Linked DNA regions of Homo sapiens: region 2 is linked to region 1. Evidence: promoter capture Hi-C in 16 types of primary human blood cells and fetal thymus (Javierre and others, 2016). All regions are on one chromosome and are shown on one strand. The core of a region is centred on a gene start or on the middle of the fragment in contact, and the rest is flanking DNA. Distances in the headings are between cores, read along the strand shown.

Region 1 (5,104 bases), core at 658-3,157:
ACTAATAGATGGAGTGATGCATTCTTCAAAATCTATTGTCATGCTTTTGTGGACTTTATTGCTTATCAGCATTTTTCCCCTCAAGAAAAAAAAACAGAACAGCAACATTTGTTCAGAAAAAAAACAAACCATGTTTCTTCCTTTCTTATTACTTTTATTGTTTGAGGTTTCTTTTAGACTATAATGTGGCATTGTGATTTTAAGATGGGAAAAAAAAATCTCTTGTCTTTCAAACATAGGAATGTGATTGTATGCTATTGTTGCCAACAATGAGCTAAAGAGGTTAATGGATCACATATCTGGCAAACAGCCATCTTTCCTCCTGCTCAATATATTACACAGTATACATTTTATTGTTGCTGCTGAGCATATGATTTTGTCTGAGTAGTTGGTAAATAAGTTTAGACTTAACTGGTCTCTTTCTAAAACTCAACAGCTTTGTCATTCAGGCTATATCCTGAGATTTAAAAAGTGCAGTTTCGGTTCTTAGCTCATGACCTTTTGAGGTGATGGTAAGAGTGGTGGGAGGAAGGAGGTGGGGCGGGCTGTTGAATGAGAATCTAGAAATATTGTGCCTTGTAAATTGCATCCGACCTTTCATTTTCAGATTGCCTAAATTAACAGAGTGAAATTACCATAATAAAAAGGAATGGGTACTGGAGAAAGTACAGCAATTCTTTCTAGTGTTGTTTCCCAGATTCCTTCCAAAATACCTCTAATTAAATGGACCAACTCTCTCCACTGACCTCAGGTTGACACAAATTTGCATTCTGCGACTGTCATTTGAAAACAGACAAGCCGTCATAAGCAATAATGCTGTGATTTCTTGCCTAAAGGACTTTTCTGTGTACTGCATTTGTACTATGAAATGTAAGCAAGAGACTTAATGCCTCTACAGATAAAAAGGGAGGAAAGATTTTCATTTTTAGGGAACCCCAGAGGGAAAAAGTTTATCAATGAGAAATACAATGTTCTGGATAATTTTGGTTGGGTAGGAATGTATGTTGAGGGAGGGGACTAGAGTTGGGAGAGAGGAAGCAACACATCAGTCTCCTTGGAGCAGTAGAGTCCTTTCAGTCCGGTAAAGAGCACAGTAAGTAGCAGGTAGAATCAGCTCCTGGCCTGTTGTTTTGCTGGGGGCAAAGGGTTGGAGGAACACAGACTAAATTGGGAAGGCTAGTGTGCCTCTCGGCTTTTGGACTTGGGACCTGAAAGAAGGCTGAGTCCTGAGCTCCGCTTCCCAGCTAGGCGGTGATCGCCCCCTGTGACTCCGGATGCACACAGCAGCCCCAAGCACGCCGCGGCCGCCGCCCGACCCTTCACCGCCTCCGGCTCTCCCGCCTGGCACTCTGGAGCCACACACACCAGCTTCCTGGACACCTGTGTGCCCCAAGCTCTGGGTCTAGGCATCCCCCTCACCCCAGAGAGACCGGTCTCAGCGCCTCAGCAATTGGGTCCCTCCGACCTCTGTGTCCCCGAGTTCTGCCACCCTGGTCACCTCCGCAGGTTCCCCAAGCTGCGACCTCAGTCCAACTGGGAGCCCTGCGCGCCCACCCGGCAGCCCCACTGCGCTGCTCGCCCGCGGTTCCAGCGCCTGGGTGGGACGCGCAGTGGCTCAGCTGCGGGACCTCCGCCTCCGGGTAAATCCTCCTCCTCCCCTTTCTCCGCCTAAGGCCCTGCCCTCCCCCTGCAGCAAGCCGCTCCGGTGCGTGCGCCCGTCTCTCCGCCGAAGACACCTGCGCTTCCTTCCCCACCCTCCTCCTCCTCCCTTTCGCTGCGGTTTCTCCGCTGCCTTTGGGAGCTCGGGAGCGGCAGCTGGAGGAGGAGCACGGGGAGGAGGGGAAGGCGAGGAGGAGTAGGGGCGGGGTGGGTGGGGAGAGAGCCGGGAGGGTGTGGACTGGCAGCCACTCTGCAGCTGGTCGCCAGGGACCCGGTCCCTCCTGCGCGCCCAAGTGATGGAGGGGAAGAGATTCGCTTAGACACACACACGCGCACACAGCTGGGCACGTCTCCGGGAGGCAGCTGCCGGCTCGGGCGCTCTGGGGGCCGGGCGGCGGCCGTGACAGCGCCAGCCGCGGGGAGCGGGGCGCCCGCACAGCTTGGCACCGGAGGCTCGAGGACGCAGGAAGGGAAGATCCCAGTCACACTGAGTGTTGCTCTTTTGGGCGGATTGGGAGGGAGCGGGCTGCCCGAGGAGCTGTCACCGAGGACGCCCGAAGTCTCGCCCTCTGCGCGCAGGGTCCGGGGCTGCGCCGGTGCCCTCGTGGGGCAAGGAGGATGCGCACCTCCCCCCGCAGAGCGGCTGCGGTCTCCGGCACTGCGCGGACTCCGGCTCCTGCGGCCGCCCGTGCCGTGCCCGCGCCACGGGAGCGCGCCCTGCCGCACCTGGTTCCAGCCTCTCGGGGAAGTGCAGGAAACGCGCCCTAAACTCCACTACTTCTCGCCCGCCTGCCCCCCCGCCCGGCTCCCCGCCTCAGACCTCGCCGCCGCCGCCGCCGCCGCCGCCGCCTGCGTGTGGGGCCCGCTCGCGTCTTACTCACACGCGCCACGCACAGCCCTGTTGGTTTGCTCTCATTCACGCCGACTCGCTCTCCGCCGAGCCTAGCCCGGGCATCCGAAACTACTGGACCAACTGCCGTCCGGACCGCAGCAGCGGCCGGGTGACCCCCACGCGACCCGCCGCCGACCCCCGCGCCCTGAGGCTCCCGCCCGCGCCGCCACCGCCGGGGACCACGGTGAGCAAGGCGCGCTGCCCGCCTCGCGCGGGGGAGGGGCTTTGAGACCTCTAGATTTGGGGGGAAATGAGAAGGGGCAAATCGCCAAAGGGAAGCATCCGGGTGATGCCAGCAAAAAAGCACTTTGTGGGGTTCGGTTCTCCTGGGCGCTGCCTGGGGAAGACTTTTGAGAGGTTTGCTTAGGACCAGAGGTTAAACTAGTGCGAGATGAGAAACGGCGGGGGCAATTCCTGGGGTAAAATTAGACAGAAGGTGTCAGTCAGCCTGCCTGTCTGTTTCTCTCTCAGTCTCTCCCAGAGCGCTGGGTAGCGCTCTCTTTGAGGGAGAAAGGGAACACGCGTTTACTGCGCTCGCCAGAGTTTAGGGGTTCGCGTTCGGTCACTTCTGGGGTGGCTGTGGAGCTGTTTGGAGCGCGAGGGCAGCTTTGGGACAGTGGGGGCCTGCGAGGCCCCAGCAGAGGACAGGCAGAGGGCAGGCAAAGAACAGGCAAAGGCTAAGTTAACATGTGGGTGGGGTTTTCTCTTCCCAGCTGGCCCCCCCCACACCCCTCACAGCCCCACTTTATGCATCTCTTCCCACCCAACACACACGCGCGCGCGCGCGCGGGATGGATGCAGTCGAAGGGTGGTCATACTGTTACTACAAACAAGTCTGAGAGGTCGCTGTCGCTACTCACTGGAGCGCTGAGACTCCTGCTCCTGTTACTTGGGCGACCACCTTGGTTTAGGGCAACCTGCAAGGAGCGTCCAGCTTAAGGTGGATGTCTTTACCTGGAGGTTCCAAGCGCCCAGCAAACAAACAACTCCGGAGTCACTTCACCTTGGTGGGTTTCCTCTACTCTTCCGCTTCCCTACTTCAGTGCTTCAGGGCACCCACCCAAGGGAGCTGATGCTCACATTCGTGGTCTACCCTGTCTTCACCCGGTGGGACTCACTCTCTCTCTCTCTCTCTCTCTCTCTCTCTCTCTCTCTCCCCCTCTCTCCCTATTCCCTCTCCCTCTCCCTCTCCCTCTCCCTCTCCCTCCCTCCCTCCCCTCTCTCCCCCTCTCCTCTCTGTCTCCGAATACGAATACCAGTTTCTTCTTAGAAAACACTGGGGAGAGATTTAATATTTGCAAAGTGCTTTATGTCATATTACTTCGTGGATACATTTAATAGCACTGTAACTCTTCTCTGATTTATGTAAACTTGGTCTGATAAATAGCATGCAGGGTCGGGTTGGGTGGGGGCGAAAGTGGGTGGGTGGGCCTTCTTTCTGTGCTAATGCTCCTTTCTAAACTGATTTGCTAGAAGTAATAAACAGCTGGTGCTTCTCAAAGGTTTTACTTAGTAGTTTCTACATATTTCAGAGCTTTAGACAAATTACACATTATAATTTATTTCAAATATATTAAGGTCTTTTCAAGAAAAAGTTGAAGATAATAAAAGGGGATTACAAATATGAATATCAAAAATGATTATTTTTTAAAAAAGGTTTTATTGCTATCAATTATGTTGCAATAGATTTTTGTTGTTGTCATTGTTACCTTGGGGTTTCCTCCTAGTGAAGTTTTTAAAGAAATGAAAACAATACTACTTACCTTCCTCTCTCTGTTTGGTCATTGCTCAAAGTAACTGCATGAGCATCAGGGCAGGCTTCTTAACTTCAGGAATATGAAGTTATTCACCAGTGAACTGATGGAGACACAAGAAGATATTACAAGACACATAGCAATGGGAAGGAAACTGTTGCTTAAATTTAACCGCCTCCAGTGTTTTAACAGTGAAAAAGAAAACTGCTTTGGCCTCTCCCAAGCTACTCTGGCCTTTTAGAAACACTCTTTTTTCAATTAATAAAACATATAGAAACATCATTACTTGAGAAAAATATTTTCAAATAGGTATGTAAGCAAATTACATGGGAAATTATGAGCACAATATTCAATGGAGTATTACAGCAAGTACTGGGATCCTGGTTTCTAGGTTGAGCCAGAGCTCATGCTTAAATTTTAACATTTGAAGTTGCTCCCTTTGACATCTTTGTGAGGAGGTGTTGCCCAGTGTTTTCATTATGCTTTTATCATTGTCCTCACCATTTTTGCCGGCATACACAGATGTTTTTGAATGAATAACCTTCTTACTCACTGAATTTTCACTCATTCAAAAAGTATTTATTGAGCACATGAACACACACAATATGCAAAGTTGAGCTGGGTTGTTATTTTAAACAAAAAGGGAGGATTTCTGGTAGAAGCAGGAAGCTTACTCCTACACAGTGTAAATAGAACTGTAGAGCAGTGGCTTACTTAGGGAAGCAGCATCTTGCCCAGAGTAGGTGGTCAACAAAGAGCTGTTGACTCAGAAATCACATAAGATATTAACCAGCCAACT
Region 2 (4,567 bases), core at 899-3,398, 1.7 Mb after region 1:
CATATAGATATAGTAAATACTTCTTAGATATTTTAAACATCTATAAGACACTTAACAAAGTCGAAGATGATTAATTTAATTAGTCATAAGTAACCATATTGTTTGGGCCCTGTTCAATTAGAAAGCTGCTTGCTATTACCTCTGGCTGGTCAATATGAAGTGAATTACACTCTTGAACCAGTTTGTTAATACCTATTTAACTGCTATTTTAGCTCATTTTACATCCCAGCTATTTTTTCTTGTGTCCAATATAATTCATCTGAAGAGGCTTCATTCTACTCAATCACTATTGCTTTCATGTCATTCATTCTTTAAACATTTATTTATTGATTAGATATTATGTGACACCAGATACTCAAAGTACTAGTAATACAACACTCAACTCCAAGACAGTCAAAGTCTTTACTTTCTTGGTAGTTACATTCACGTTGATGAAGGTAGACAGTAAGCAAATAGCCAATATATCAAGAATACAATAAGAATATGAAAGTGCCAAGGTGAAAATATATTAAGGTGCTATGCCAGTGAAACACCAAGGGACTGCAGTTTAGTTAATCAAAAAGTTTTCACCGAAGTTTGAGTTGAGACCTGAATGGCAAGAAGGAGTCAAGAATGAGAAGGAAGCTCTGGGGAAACAGCTTTCCAGCTGAGGAAATAACTAATGCAAACACCCTAAGTTAGGATCCCGCTTGGCATGTTCATAGAAAAAGAATGTCTTTCTTTCCTCAATTCTCAAAATTTTAAGGTGTGGTATGCTTGTCTCTTTCATTTAAATATCTGTGGATGACGCTCGCCTGCCTGCCCGCTCCCTTGCTAGCTCGCGCTTTCGCTCACCCTCTCCTCAAGGATCCAGGGGGCTCTGACCAAAGCCTGCGGCAAGGAAGGGAGACAGAGGCGGCGGCTCAGGAGAAATGAGGCTGCAGTGGTGGTGGTAGGAAGATGTAGGGTGAGGACGAGCAGCAGAAGCAAACTATCGCTGAAGACCTGGTTGTGACCAAGTATAAGATGGGGGGCGACATTGCCCACCGGGTACTTAGGTCCTTGGTGGAAGCATCTAGCTCAGGTGTATTGGTACTGAGCCTGTGTGAGAAAAGTGATGCCGTGATTATGGAAGAAACAGGGAAAATCTTCAAGAAAGAAAAGGAAATGAAGAAAGGCATTGCTTTTCCCACCAGTATTTCAGTAAATAACTGTGTATGTCACTTCTCCCCTTTGGAGAGTGGCCAGGATTATATTCTCAAGGAAGGTGACTTGGTAAAAATTGACCTTGGGGTCTATGTGGATGGCTTCATCGCTAATGTAGCTCATACTTTTGTGGTTGATGTGGCTCAGGGGACCCAAGTAACAGGGAGGAAAGCAGATGTTATTAAGGCAGCTCACCTTTGTGCTGAAGCTGCCCTACGCCTGGTCAAACCTGGAAATCAGAACACACAAGTGACAGAAGCCTGGAACAAAGTTGCCCAGTAATTTAACTACAAGCCAATAGAAGGTATGCTGTCACACCAGTTGAAGCAGCATGTCATCGATGGAGAAAAAACCGTTATCCAGAATCCCACAGACCAGCAGAAGAAGGACCACGAAAAAGATGAATTTGAGGTATATGAAGTATACGCTGTGGATGTTCTCATCAGCTCAGGAGAGGGCAAGGCCAAGGATGCAGGACAGAGAACCCCTATTTACAAATGAGACACTCCTGAAGAGTATGGACTGAAAATGAAAACTTCACGTGCCTTCTTCAGTGGATGGAAAGGCGTTTTGATGTCATGCTGTTTACTTTAAGAGCATTTGAAGATGAGAAGAAGGCTCGGATAGGTGTGGTGGAGTGTGCCAAACATGAACTGCTGCAACCATTTAATGTTCTCCATGAGAAGGAGAGTGAATTTTTTGCCCAGTTTAAATTTACAGTTCTGCTCATGCCCAGTGGCCCCATGCGGATAACCAGTAGTCCCCTCAAGCCTGACCTCTACAAGTCTGAGATGGAGGTCCAGGATGCAGAGCTAAAGGCCCTGCTCGAGTTCTGCAAGTCGAAAAACCCAGAAAAAAAAAAGAAGGCCTCCAAGACTGCAGAAAATGCCACCAGTGGGGAAATATTAGAAGAAAATGAAGCTGGGGACTGAGGTGGGTCCCATCTCCCCAGCTTGCTGCTCCTGCCTCATCCCCTTCCCACTACACCCCAGACTCTGTGAAGTGCAGTTCTTCTTCTCCACCTAGGACATCCAGCAGAGTGGGGGTCTCCCTGCCTCCACCCCAGTTACCCAACCCACTCCTTTCCAACAACAACCGGCTCCAACTGACTCTGGTCTTGGGAGGCGAGGCTTCCTGGGCACGGAAGACTACTTTAGATGAAAAAAAGAAATTGAATAATAAAATCAGGGGTCAAAATTCATAGTCTTCAAGCCCCTCTTTCTAGCCTTTTCTACTACTCTCTGCTTGGTCAAGGTTTGTGACCCTACTACAGAACCAGGCTAAATTGGCCACCACCACTGAAAACTCAGCCAAATTTTTTTATACCATTCTGATGTTAGCATTTTTTCATCCGTTTGGGGCTTTTTCCTTTTTTCCATTCTCCCCAAGTATTTTATCTGGCTTCAAAATTAGGATTATTTTTCAGATTGTTTTTATTCAGTGTGGCCAATTCCTCATCTGATTCAGGCTGTCCAGCCAGGCCCCTCCCATTTTAGGAGCTGGAGCCTTCATTTATGAAGCGATTCTTATCTATGAAATGGATCTGAATTAGTCAATCTTTTTTCTTCCATTTTCACAAAGCTGTAAAGAAATAATCCATCTCAACCTCACCCTTTTCTCTGGAGTCAGTGGGGTCTTCCCTGCTCCATTCTACAGAAAACTGAGCTGGAAGCTCAACTGGTTTTGTTCACTGTTTGAAATATTGTGATCTCCTTCCCTTGAAAGAAAAACCAAGAACCAGAGGAGTAGACTGTCTGAAGATACAACTCCTAGCTTTCTGAAGCTATGGACTTGGATTAAATTTCTAGGGGTTTGTAGGGAAAGGTGACAAATTTCAGTACATCTGGCATGCTGTCCCAGGAAACTAGGGCTCCTACTAATTTATGAGGTTTTTAAGCACATTGAAAATGACATGACATTAAAATAAATTTGAATTTTCTCATAAAAATAAAAATAATAAATAAATAAATATCTGTGGATAATAATAGAAATAAAATAGAAATGGCCTTATTTATAAAATGAAATTTTACATGCTTTTATTTAATTTTTTTAAAAAAAGTTTCTGGCCGGGCACAGTGCCTCACACCTGTAATCCCAGCACTTTGGGAGGCCGAAGCGAGTGGATTGCGAGGTCAGGAGATCGAGAACAGCCTGGCTGGCGTGGTGAAACCCCGTCTCTGCTAAAAATACAAAAATTAGCTGGGAGTGTTGGTGTGTGCCTGTAATCCCAGCTACTTGGGAGGTTGAGGCAGGAGAATCGCTTGAAACAGGGAGTTGGAGTTTGCAGTGAGCCGAGATCGCGCCACTGCACTCCAGCCTGGCGACAGAGTGAGACCCCATCTCAAAAAAAAACACACACACACACACACACACACAAAAATGAGTTTCTTAGGAGAGATCGTCACAAAGGCTGAGGAACTAGACAAGTGGCCTCAAACCTTTTTTTTGCTGATACATAATGATCATATACCTTCCTGAGGTACATGCAATATTTTAACACATGCATACAATGTGTAGTGATCAAATTAGGGTAATTGGGATATACAATGCCTCATATGTTTGCCCTTGCTTTGTGTTGGGAAAATTCCAAATCTTTCTTTCAGCTATTTTGAAATGTACAATAAGTTATTGTAACAGTAGTTTCCCTCCTGGGCTATCGAACACTGGAACTCAACTCTTGATCTGTGTATTGCACTTGGGGATTTTATAATTAAAGCCCCATTGCTATGACACAGACAGCACCCAAGGGCTTGCTGATCACCTTTAAAACTCCAGTCCAAATTTAGGCAAAATTCCTTCCTGTGCTTTCCTTTCGTATAGTTGAGATAGGCCAGCATAACTAGAAGTGCTCCCAGAAGGTTGGTATTGCCACTAGACACCAAGCTGGCCTCTGAAACAGGCTGCCTTGGTCCAGATTGTTTTCTTCTTTGTTCCAAATCTGAGCTAAAGCTATCTCTTTCCTTGTCACCAACAAATTCAAAACATCCTTCCTTCAAAAAGTACCCACGTTTCCTGATTTGAAATTACCAGCAACATTAATGTAATTTAAGAGACAGACTTGATTCAGAGCTAATGGGCAGGACTGTGCTAAATGACACAGTAACTTGGTTCCACCCACTCTATCATGGCCATCGGATGTGACCTTCCCCACTCAAAAGCTTATTATAAAAGAGTTACTTTCTCAGCTTTCTCTGTTGATGGAGTATAAGTAGCCAAACACATTCAAGTTATCAAAATGCATATGAGTTCATCTTTTAGCCAATTAATTTACTTGTAAAGCTTTGGCCTATTAAATAATTTGTCCGAAATGATAAAAAGGAATATAAGGGTGAGGATGAACTGTATTTCCAAAAGGATATTCAAAACCATTACCTTCACTAGG

What was found. The method cuts DNA at HindIII sites, captures the fragments that hold promoters and counts their contacts. A CHiCAGO score of 5 or more calls a contact.
Region 2: a contact is called between a fragment that was not itself captured here and the fragment with the promoter of HS3ST5 in region 1, in 1 of 17 cell types (M2 macrophages). The highest score is 6.8, in M2 macrophages.

The regions. Positions count from the first base shown.
Region 1 is chr6:114,339,826-114,344,929 of GRCh38, reverse strand. HS3ST5 (heparan sulfate-glucosamine 3-sulfotransferase 5) reads left to right here and starts at 1,907. Exons shown (of 5, transcript NM_153612.4): 1 at 1,907-2,735. It overlaps LOC107986638 (a long non-coding RNA gene), which reads right to left and starts at 2,605. Exons shown (of 8, transcript XR_002956366.2): 1 at 2,541-2,605. It overlaps HDAC2-AS2 (HDAC2 and HS3ST5 antisense RNA 2), which reads right to left. Exons shown (of 10, transcript NR_125845.1): 10 at 4,201-4,408. The HindIII fragment of the contact is 8,063 bases long and covers 1-4,976 here.
Region 2 is chr6:112,614,253-112,618,819 of GRCh38, reverse strand. It overlaps the pseudogene PA2G4P5. Among named protein-coding and RNA genes, the nearest start is that of RFPL4B, 270 kb to the right of the region's middle. The HindIII fragment of the contact is 4,394 bases long and covers 1-4,345 here.